2 separate regions of the Homo sapiens genome follow, and region 1 is linked to region 2. Evidence: promoter capture Hi-C in human tissues and cell types (Jung and others, 2019). All regions are on one chromosome and are shown on one strand. Each heading gives the region's core, a stretch centred on a gene start or on the middle of the fragment in contact. The rest is flanking DNA. Distances are from core to core; before and after follow the strand shown.

Evidence for each region. Contacts are between HindIII fragments. The study calls those that stand out against the background at their distance.
Region 1: a contact is called between a fragment that was not itself captured here and the fragment with the promoter of TFF2 in region 2, in 9 of the 25 tissues and cell types used here (H1 embryonic stem cells, IMR-90 fibroblasts, adrenal gland and 6 more).

The regions. Positions count from the first base shown.
Region 1 is chr21:42,418,686-42,424,213 of GRCh38, forward strand. All of the region lies in intron 7 of UBASH3A (ubiquitin associated and SH3 domain containing A), which reads left to right. Among named protein-coding and RNA genes, the nearest start is that of UBASH3A, 18 kb to the left of the region's middle. RefSeq lists an enhancer at 4,492-4,761. The HindIII fragment of the contact is 5,669 bases long and covers 779-5,528 here.
Region 2 is chr21:42,346,683-42,352,374 of GRCh38, forward strand. It overlaps TFF2 (trefoil factor 2), which reads right to left and starts at 4,312. Exons shown (of 4, transcript NM_005423.5): 1 at 4,197-4,312; 2 at 3,199-3,348; 3 at 804-950. The coding sequence starts at 4,275. LOC105372815 (a long non-coding RNA gene) reads left to right here and starts at 5,611. Exons shown (of 3, transcript XR_937755.3): 1 at 5,611-5,692. The HindIII fragment of the contact is 10,226 bases long and covers 1-5,692 here.

The DNA of each region.
Region 1 (5,528 bases), core at 2,363-4,862, 71 kb after region 2:
TGCTTCTAGACCATTCCATTATTGGTAAAATTGCATTCTGTATGCTGACAAAATTATTCCTGCAGGTATATAGTAAACATCTTGGTTCGTCCCTGGTTTTCTGATGATAACATTCAAAAAAGAATGAATTACTCTGCATTAGAGTAATTTGAGATGGTAATCCCCAAATTACTGCAAAATACTACTTCTTTATCACACACATAATAAATTATACTCAGAGGTCCTGAGCTTGGGTTTATTTATTCTTCTGCTCCGTGTATGAAATGTAAAGTCCTAGGTCGTATTATTAGTTTTCTATGACTGTATAATAAATTACCACTAAAACAAAGTGCAATTATTATCTTATGGTATTTATGGGTTGAGAGTCAGAGTCCAGCTTCACTGGGTCCTCAGCTCGGGGTCTCAAGGCTGTAATCAAGGTGCCTGCCAGGGCTGGGCTCCCCACTGAGGCTTCACACCCTCGCCTGAGCATACACAGTTGTTGGTGGGAGTGATTTCCTTGAAGCTGTAGGGCTCCTGGTGAGTTGCTTCTTCATCAGCTGAAGAATCTCTTAATTTTAGCACCTTTTAGCATCATCTGGTGAGGCTAAGGATTTTCAGAATCATCAGATACTGGTTCTTTTTTGTTCGATGTTCTTCCCTCAATTTATCTCTTTCCTCTCCCGCTTCACTATAAATAACATGAAGAAACCAGGTGATACACTTAACACTTTGTTTGGAAATAGCCTTAGCTATGTGACCAACATCATCGCTTACAAGTCCTGCTCTCCATGGACAATTTCATTAAACTCTCTGGCACACATGGGAAGGATCCTCCTTGCTCCGATTTCCTGGAACACCTGTCACATTCCTTTCTGAGTTCTCCCCGGAGGATTCACCTTTAGCATCCCTATTTCCTCTAGCAGTCTGTTCATGGTGATTTGGGCTTTCTCTGCTGTGCTACTCAAAAGTCTCTTAGCCTCTACTCGCTGCCAAGTCCCAAAGTTGTTTCCACATTTTAAGTTCAGAAGGTTTCCAACTTACAATGGTTTGGCTTAGGATTTCATAATGTTACGAAAGTGATATGGGTTCAATAGAAACTGTACTTCAAGTGCCCATACAATCATTCTGTGCTACATTTTCAGTACAACATTCAACGAATTACATGAGATACTCAACACTTGATTATAAAATCGGCTTTGTGTTAGATTATTCCGCCCTATCATAGGCTACTGTAAGTGTTCTGAGCGTGTTTAAGGTAAGCTAGGCCAAGCTGTGATGTTCAGTAGGTTAGGTGCATTAAATGCATTTTCAATTTATGATGGGTTTGTTGGAACATAACCCCATCTGAAGTTGAAGAACATCCACTGTTTGTTAGAGTAGCACCCCATTCCTGATACCAAATTTAGTAAAAGTTTAACCAGAGATGCAGAACCAGTCACTTTCATACAATATATAATACATATAAGTATATGTACAGTTGTCCCTTGCTATCTGCAAGGGATTGGTTCCCGGACCCCCACAGATACCCAAATCCTCATGTTCTCGAGTCCCCGATATAAAATGCTGTAGTATTTACATGCAACTTATGCACATCACCCTGTATCCTTTAAATCATCTCTAGATTACTTGTGATATGTAATACAGTATAAATACTATGCAAATAGTTGTTATACGGTATTGTTTTTTATTTGTATTTTTTAAATTGTATTGCTATTTTTTAATTGATTAATCTTTTGAATATTTTTGGCCTGCAGTTGGTTGAATCCACAAATGCAGAACCTCCAGATACAAAGGGCTGACTATACATACATAGTATTTTATATTATATACACATGTATCACACACATATATATATGGAAAGGTATATATGTATACACACATCTATATTGATTTACTACAATGAATTGCCTTATGGAATTACTGGGGCTAGCTAAGCAAGGGCAGACAGGCAGGAAGGGAGGAGCCTACTTAGGCTGAAAACCCATGGGCAAGCTGAAGCTTGTTGTCCACATGTGGCAGTTGGAAGGACCACCCGGGTGATGGGAGAGCAGTCACAGACACAGCTGCTATTGAAGTCTCTGAGTGTGAGGAAAGCCTAAGTTTTTAAAAAAAAATGCCTTCCAACTGCATAAGTCAGACCTGCTCAGAATAACCTTGCTTTTGATTAATTTAAGCTCAACTGATTAGGGGTTCTAGTCACATTTGTAAAATCTCCTTCCAGCAGCACCTAGACTAGCATTTGATGGGATAGCTAGGAAGGCTGTGTGTGATGCTTAGGATGGCTACTGCCTCCCTTCCATCCTCCAGCTCTCATGAGAATGCCTCTTGTAGCCCACCCTGATCAGACATGTGCTAAAAAGGAAGTCTAGGAACTGTCGTTCAGTCTGGCCAAGTTGCCACACCATAAAGCCATTGCAAAGTGTTAAGGTGGCTCTTGTGAGCTTTTTCACTCTCTTCTCCCAGGTTCCAGTTAGGAGAGTGGAGAGAGCAGGCAGAGGTCAGAGTACACATGGTGAAAAAAGAGAAAAGCTGCTCAGCCTCATGGGTGTGCCTGTTGGGGTGGAGCTCTTGCAGGTGTCAAGACTGATGGTTGGAACAACTGAATGATGAGAGTGGGAGGAGAAGGGCAGAAATACACAGAAAAACCCTATGTTGTGGTTCTGGGCTTCCTGGCACCTTCAGAGCTGTGTGGCTGGGGAAGAGAGCCTGGAAAAACACCATCGTGGCCATCCCTCTGTCTCCAGGCAGGAGGTCTTAAAACCATTTTATATTTCACTCATTTGTTTAATTCTCTCCTAAAATGCTCCACAGCTTCTCTAGGGTTCCCCTCACCACCCTGACAAATAAATAAATCATTAAGTTGAACACAGATGTATCAGCATCTACTCAATCTATAGATTTTCAGATCTGTGCTGGACATTTGCTGTGGACTTCTATTTCCAGCATCTATACATCCAGGGAATTATTTTCTGTACCCTTCCTAATGAGATTCATGCACATGGCAAAACTATGAAAATTGTGACGTTTTATTTGAGTAGTCATTAAAAGCTGCTTAAAAATTGTCAGAGGCTATATGGATAAGCCTCTGTGTGGATAAGACTAGCATTTTAAGTAAATTAAGAAAGAACGTATTTTGAAGAGCTGAAATAAATGATTGCATATTGGTCATTTTTATCCAAACCCCCAAAAAAGAAAAGAAAAGATGGTTTAATAGTACCTGATAGAAGCTCTTGGTGAAATGATTAGAATTTGCAAGAAATAGTAGTAAAAATAATGGAAGTATTGTCTGAAATATTTATAAAAGGAGATTTGGTGACTATGGCTGATTTCTTTAAGTATTATATTTCTTTTTGCTAATTATTCATACACTGAGATTTGTATAACAAGCCAGGGACAGTACCTATGTCCCTGGGCTCCCCCACTAAACATAATAGCCACTTGACATTCAAGGAGAGCAGATTCCAGCCAAAGCCCCACAGCTGTGCATACATGACATTCCATATCATCTTCTCTTGAGGCCATTTAACTTCTTACCCTAATGAATAAGAACTTAGGACCACAAAATGCAAATGTGGGATGAAAAATGCAGCCGTAGTCACACGTCTTTATTTATTGATGTGTTGACTCCTAATCCACTTAAATCTATTTTAAGGCAGCTTAAGAGATGTCCAATAGCTTTGCACACTAACATCACCCCCTGTGCCTGGCTCTGTGCCATGCATTTCCCTTACTAACTGATTTACTTCTCCAATACCCCCTGGATAGGCACTTTTATTGATCCATTTTATAGTTGATGAAACTGAGACACAAAGAGATCAACTCACTTGCCTGTGTTCACACAGCAAGTGAGCAGAGGAAGCCGGATTCCAGTCTTATACCTAATCCCACGCTTGGGCTTTCAACTATGACCTCAACTGCCTATAGAAGAGATCATTAAAATTTAAAAATAAGTCCATAAATTAAATTATGACACATCCATACAATAAAATATTTGCAGCTTTAAAATAATTAAAAGGGAGAATTTTATATATTGATTTGAAAAAATATGCAAGATTTATTGATAAATGAAAAAAATAAGTTGCAGAACGATGTGTATGGCATGATATACTTGTGGGGGAAGGGGAGAGAAACACATAACTGTCTGTAAATACATGTGCACAATATGTATTTCTATACATGTGTATGCCTAAAGGTTCCCTGGAAGGGAGAGTGTCTAGAAACTTCTAACCATGGTTACCGGTGGGTGTTGGGAGTGGGAGCCAGGAGAATGGAACAGAAATGGGAGGGAGTCTTTTCAAACACGACCATTTCATAATGTTTAAATGTATGAAGCATATAAATGCATTACTTACTCAAAACATAAATTAATCCATTTTAAATTTCAAGAAGAGAATGTAAGAAAGCTGGGTCAAAGGGAGAGTAAAGGTGGAAAAGCTAGACAAAGCCAGGGCTGAGGTTTGTCCATACCATGGCGTGCGCTGTGAGCTCCCAGCTCCGAGCTTTCCCACATCCAGTGAGAAAACAGACACACATTCAACCAACAGTCATGGCCATCCCAGATGCGTGCAGACCAGCGGTTCAGGAGAAACACAATTTGCTGACATAGACATGTCCGTGGGTCCAGGGGCCACATCAAAATCACAGGATGTGGGTGCCACAAGGGATTGTAGAGATAACCGAAGGCAGCTCCCCTGCTTGAGAGGTGAGAAGACTCGGGCCCAGGAGGCCAGGTGACGTTGTACAATCAAGGAAGCTCTTGCTTTCTTGCAAGCTCAGTTCACCACCTGATCCAATCAACAGTTTAAGGAATAGAGAGGAGATGCTGGCTATGCCCTAACTAACCATCTCAATTTCAGGAGGGTTGGGGCTCCCCTGTGGCCCCGCATCATTTAGCATGTCCTTCGCTCTCTGCCCGGGATGGGAGAGTTTCACAGTCACAGAGGAACCACAAAGACTCTGCAGAAGATGAGTCAGCGGCTATGATACTTTTCACTTCACAATTAATACATCAGACACCTGCCATCAACATAACCATTCCAGCTTTTATGCCTGACATTTCTGGGACTATTCTTTCCAGAGGAACTTTCTCTTGAGAATTAATCAGTATTAACAAAAATTGCAATGAAAGGAAAGAGAAATAAGCACTGGGCTAGGTGCTGTGGGTTGTCTGATTGGTCCTGCTTTGGAAGCACCCTCATTGTGGCTGGGGGAGCATCAAGACACCCTGACAAGCTGTGATCTGTGCTTATGGGCCAGTGAGGCAGATGACGGGAGCTGTTGGACTCCACTGTGCTGGCTAAATCTTTTCAAACTGCTGAAAATCCTTATTAAACATCTAAAGCTTTCAAAATCGGAAAATGATCCTTGAATGTCTCCACACATCACTGACATATTCATTAGTGGAAAATGGGGTCAGACAGCAATGTCCAGAGGCCAGCTGACCCACGGACTGACAGATAGCTGTGCAGATGTTGAATAATTACTTCCTACGAGCCCTGGTCAGGACTCACACTTGCACGATCCAAGCAGCAGAACCACTGGCATTA
Region 2 (5,692 bases), core at 3,062-5,561:
GTGTAAAGGGACCAAATCTTCCCACCCCAGGCCAGAGTTTCCTCTGTGGGGCGCATTCTCCCCAGACAAGTGAACATTTTCTAGGTGGACCTTTAGGTCACATAAAAAAAATCACTCGGAAAATCCTGAACATGAAATATTTCGCTCTTTGGAGTGCTTTGATATCCTAACAAAAGGAAAAGAAAAGGCATCCTTCAAGGGCCAGTAGCTCTTTCCCCATTTTCCTGGATCTGCTTGGTCTTTTTTTACCTCGCCACACTCCGAGTCAGGAACACACTATCACTAAGCGGGTGGGAGAAGTGGACCCGTTCACCTCTGCCGGCGGGACCCTCCCGGGACTGCCCGGAGCAGGACGTTGTGGATGAGGTTTGTCATTCGGGGTCATGTGGGGGAGAACGGGGAAGCCACGGGAGAAGGGGCCAGGTCTGCTTGAGTTGGGCCCTCTCTGGTACCCAGCACAGTGCAAGACACTCAGTAGCCTCCAAATGCAGATGGGCTTGCAATAAAACAGGCAACGCCTCTGAACGTTGCAACACCTGGGGAGGCAACAGGGATGAGCCGCTGTTTCTAGAGCCATCACAGATGACGCAGTGGCAATGCTGGAGGCTATAAACTTATTGAAAAGACGCTGTCTTTGCCAAGAACATTCTGGAATTGCCTTCAGAATCCCATAGGAGGCAGGGGCCCTGGCCTCGATGGCACTGAGGCTGCGAGGCAGCTCCCCTCCCTGCACCCCACCTCTACGGACGGAGGAGGAATCATGGTGTCCGGGAACCAGACAGAGAGTCCCACAGCGACGTTACCTTCCACAGACTTCGGGAAGAAGCACCAGGGCACTTCAAAGATGAAGTTGGAGAAGCAGCACTTCCGAGAGGCGCATTCCTCGGGGCTGATGCCCGGGTAGCCACAGTTTCTTCGGTCTGAGACCTCCATGACGCACTGATCCGACTCTGCCATGGGACAGGCACAGCACCGAGACCCAGTCAGGCCTGCTGTGCCCTGGAAAGCTCCACCCCTTCCTCCTCTGAGAGCAGCGCTGATTTGCAGCCTCCGTGGATCATGAGGTGCTGCCTGGGGCAGCATCCCCCGGGACGGCCTCCCCCGGGGACTGTGGAAGTGTCGGCCCCTGGGACCGCCTCCCCCGGGGACTGTGGAAGTGTCGGCCCCAGCGACGCTTGGCTGGCCTGTCCTCCGCGAAGGTGGGGCCCATGTGGGGTGGTCACAGTCAGAAGCTCTGGAGTCCCCCGCCTTGGGGAAATCATTTTGCCTCTCGGGACTCAGTGTTCTCAGTAAATGGGGTGGTCCCCCGGGCCAAGATGAGAAAAGGTTTGTGGGCACCTTGGTAAGATGGAAAGCGTTTGGACATGGTATTGATTCCCAAAGACACTGCCATTCAGTGGGCGCTCGTGAACAATCCACCATCTGCCTGGTTTCCCTGCGGGGCCCAGCAAGCCTCCCAGCAACAATCTTGGGGATGAATCCTCCTTCTCCAGAGGACGTGCCTGGTTCCACGCACACAGGTGCACGACACACACACAACCTTCCTTTGAGCACTCGTCGGCGTTACAACTTGGGTCCTGATCCCGTGCACTAACATAAAACTCACTCCCAAAGAACCCTAGAAGGCTTCACTTCCTTCCCTAACATTTGAGGGCTGTCAGCCCTTATGTTACTGCTGTCCTATTAAATACCTTCATTTCCCCATGGAAGCTTCTTCAGAAGTCACACTTCAAAAACTAGAGGAGACCTACTATATATATATATATTTTTTTCTCAACTAAAGTAAAACTGATGGCTCCACACACACATGTCTGTTGAAAGAACTAACAGTGTAGAAACAGGGTAGGTGGGAAATTTTCATCTCACTGTTGGCTGACCTGGGTTACCTCTAGACTAACAGTCCAGGCTGGCCCCAGGCTAACCAACCTGGGCTACCTCTAGACTAGCAGTCCAGACTAGTCCCAGACTAACCAATCTGGGCTACCTCTAGACTAACAGTCCAGGCTAGTCCCAGACTAACCAACCTGGGCTACCTCTAGACTAACAGTCCAGACTAGTCCCAGACTAACCAACCTAACCAACCTGGGCTACCTCTAGACTAACAGTCCAGGCTAGTACCAGACTAAACAACCTGGGCTACCTCTAGACTAGCAGTCCAGGCTAGTCTAAGACTAACCAACATGGGCTAGCCCCAGACTAACCAACCTGGGCTAGCCCTAGACTACCTCTAGACTAGCAGTCCTCTAGGCTACCTCTAGACTAGCAGTCCAGGCTAGTCCCAGACTAACCAACCTGGGCTAGCTCCAGACTAAACAACCTGGGCTAGCTCCAGACTAACAAACCTGGGCTAGCCCCAGACTAACCAACCTGGGCTACTAGCCTCAGACTAACCAACCTGGGCTAGCTCCAGACTAACCAACCTGGGCTAGCTCCGATTAACCAACCTGGGCTAGCCCTAGACTAACCAGCCTACGCTAGCCCTAGACTAACCAACCTGGGCTAGCTCCAGACTAACAAACCTAGGCTACTAGCCCCAGACTAACCAGCCTATGCTAGCCCTAGACTAACCAACTTGGGCTAGCTCCAGACTAACCAACCTAGGCTACTAGCCCCAGACTAATCAACCTGTGCTAGCTCCAAACTAACTAACCTGGGCTAGCCCTAGACTAACTAGCCTACACTAGCCCTAGACTAACCAACCTGGGCTAGCCCCAGACTAACCAACCTGGGCTACTAGCCCCAGACTAACCAACCTGGGCTAGCTCCAGACTAACCAACCTGGGCTAGCCCCAGACTAACCAGCCTACGCTAGCCCTAGACTAACCAACCTGGGCTAGCTCCAGGCTAACCAACCTGGGCTACTAGCCCCAGACTAACCAACCTGCGCTAGCTCCAAACTAACCAACCTGGGCTAGCCTTAGACTAACTAGCCTACACTAGCCCTAGACTAACCAACCTGGGCTAGCCCCAGACTAACCAACCTGGGCTAGCCCCAGACTAACCAACCTGGGCTAGCTCTAGACTAACCAACCTGGGCTAGCCCCAGACTAACCAACCGGGGCTAGCTCGAGACTAACCCACCCAGGCTAACCCTAGACTAGCAACTGGGCCTCCTCCGGCCCCTGCTCTGGGCTCCGCCTGTGAAGCTGGGTCCTGGGTTGCCAGCTGCTGGCCCAGGAAGATTCCCTGGAAGATTACCTTGCTTTGGGAGGGGGTGGAAACACCAGGGGACCCCAGTGACACTGGAGTCGAAACAGCATCCATTGTCAAAACACTGGTCACTGGTGATTCCAGGGAAGCCGCAGTTCGTCCTGTTATGGGGGCTCAGCCTGGAGCACTGGCAGGGGGCTGTGGAAAGACCCTCAGTCGGCCCCACCCTGGTACCCCAGACCACACTGCTCCTTCTCTCAGAGGTTCTAGGGGATGCCTCTACTGTCTTGTTGCCACATAGAGAAACACAAAGTCTTATCTTGCCCATATTTAAGCAATGCGGTTTCCTCCTGAGAAGCCGATAGGGCTTTGCTGAAATTGTTATATTAGTTTAAAAGGAAAAAAAAAAAAAAGCCAGGCATGGTGGCTCATACCTATAATCCCAGCACTTTAGGAAGCCGAGGCGGGCAGATTGCTTGAGCTCAGGAGTTCAAGACCATCCTGGGCAACATGTCGAAACCCCATCTCTACAAACAATACAAAAAAAAAAATTGGCCGGGCATGATGGTCCACAACTGTGGTTTCAGCTACTCAGGCGGCTGAGGTGGGAGGATCACTTGAGCCTGGGAGGCAGAGGTTGCAGTGAGCCAAGATCACACCACTGCACTCCTGCCTGGGCGGCAAAGCCAGATCCTGTCTCGGAAAAAAACAAAAACAAAACCCTCCTAGAGGAGGGTGAACAGATGGACCCAAGGCCAAGATCCAGGCGAGAGGTGAGTGCTCTGGGACTCCAAGGACCCTTGGTGGGAATGCCCTCCTGGCCCGACACGGGGCCCGCTGACACCTGCCGTCACTCAGCCTTTCCCTAGGAGGGAGGCCCTTCTTGGAGCCACCCTCCTGAGCAGTGGCAAATCCCATGTGAACAACACACATTGCCAGATGCCTTTATAGCCATTCCCCCTCTCAAGTTAATTTATGGTTGTGCTTTTTTTTTTTCTTTAAGAGAAATAAAGAAAGCACATAAAAAGACCCTCTCCTTCACTTACAGGGTTTCTCACTCCCCGCCAGGGCACATAGCCCCAGGACGAGGAGCGCTGCCAGGAGCTGGGCGTCTCGCCGTCCCATGTCTAGCTCAGCTGCACCCCAGGGTGGCTTGCAGAATGCATGGTGTCCACTGCCGGGTATGTTTTATAATCTCCCCTCTGTTTGTCCAACAAGCAGAGATAACCTTTCTTCTCTGCCCCGTGGCCCCAGCCCTTCCACCGTGGAGGCGAAGAGGAGGCAAGAGGCAGCTGTGCCCTGTGCAGGCGAGGCTTCCGGGCCAGGGTGACTCTCTCCCTGCTCGGTGATACCTCTTCCTGCCCTGGACAGAGAGTTGGGTCATGCCAGGCTGCCAGCGTGGAAAACCGGCCACGTGCAGGTCTGGGGCTGGGCACACACAGGGTCACACCCAGGAAGGGATAAGCTATGCATTTCTATTGATAGAGTGGGCAGGGACCACAGGAATTTAGAAAATATTAGGGCCAAGTTTACTGGGGAAAATGTACAGGCCAGCAGATAGCATGGAAAAGTCCCCTCCCTGAGGAAGGGAAGCATCTCAGAGGAGGTAAGAGACTGCTCCCAGGGCTGTGGTTAGAGCCTCCCCAACCGCAGCACGATGCCCTTTGTCCCATCTTCAGCAGGAGGGGCTGCTCTCCATGGAGATGAGGCTGACAGGGTCAGCGGAGTAGCCTGTGACAGGCAGGTTTTAATAAGTTCATTTTCAGCCAACCCCTGAAATGGGTTATTTTTGTTCCATGGGAATGCTCTACATCTTCTGAAAGATGGCACCTGGGACCCAGCCCATGGCCTTCCTGGGGTAGGATGTGCTGGAGAAGGATTCTGTGGACCTGACAGAGAAGACAGAAGCCAGAGAGTAGACACCCGGAAAGAAAGAGGGAAAAGTGTGGTGGGAAGGACAGAGGGGACCCGAAGTTCCCCACGCCAGGGAAATGACAGGGGGTTGCCAGTCTGTTTCTGATGGTTGAGCAGTCAGGGGCCCAGAGACGCAGGAAACCCAAAATCCTTGGTCCACCACGGGGCTGTCCTCAGGGTCTGGAGAGCAGGCCCCATACTCCAGGCCCCCATCCTCCAGGCCCTCGTCCCCCAGGCTCCATCCTCCAGGCCCCCATTCTCCAGGGCTCCATCCTCTAGGCCCCTGTCCTCCAGGCCCCCATCCTCTAGGCCCTCATCCTCCAGGCTCCATCCTCCAGGCTCCATCCTCCAGGTTTCATCCTTCAGGCCATCATCCTCCAGGCCCCCGTCCTCCAGGCCCCCATCCTCCAGGCCCCATCCTCCAGGCCCCCATCTTTCAGGCCCCTGTCCTCCAGGCTCTTGTCCTCCAGGCCCTCATCCTCCAGGCCCCTGCTCCTCCAGACCCTCATCCTCCAGACCCTCATCCTCCAGGCCCCCATCTTTCAGGCCCCTGTCCTCCAGGCCCTCTTCCTCCAGACCCTCGTCCTCCAGGCCCCTGTTCCTCCAGACCCTCGTCCTCCAGACCCTC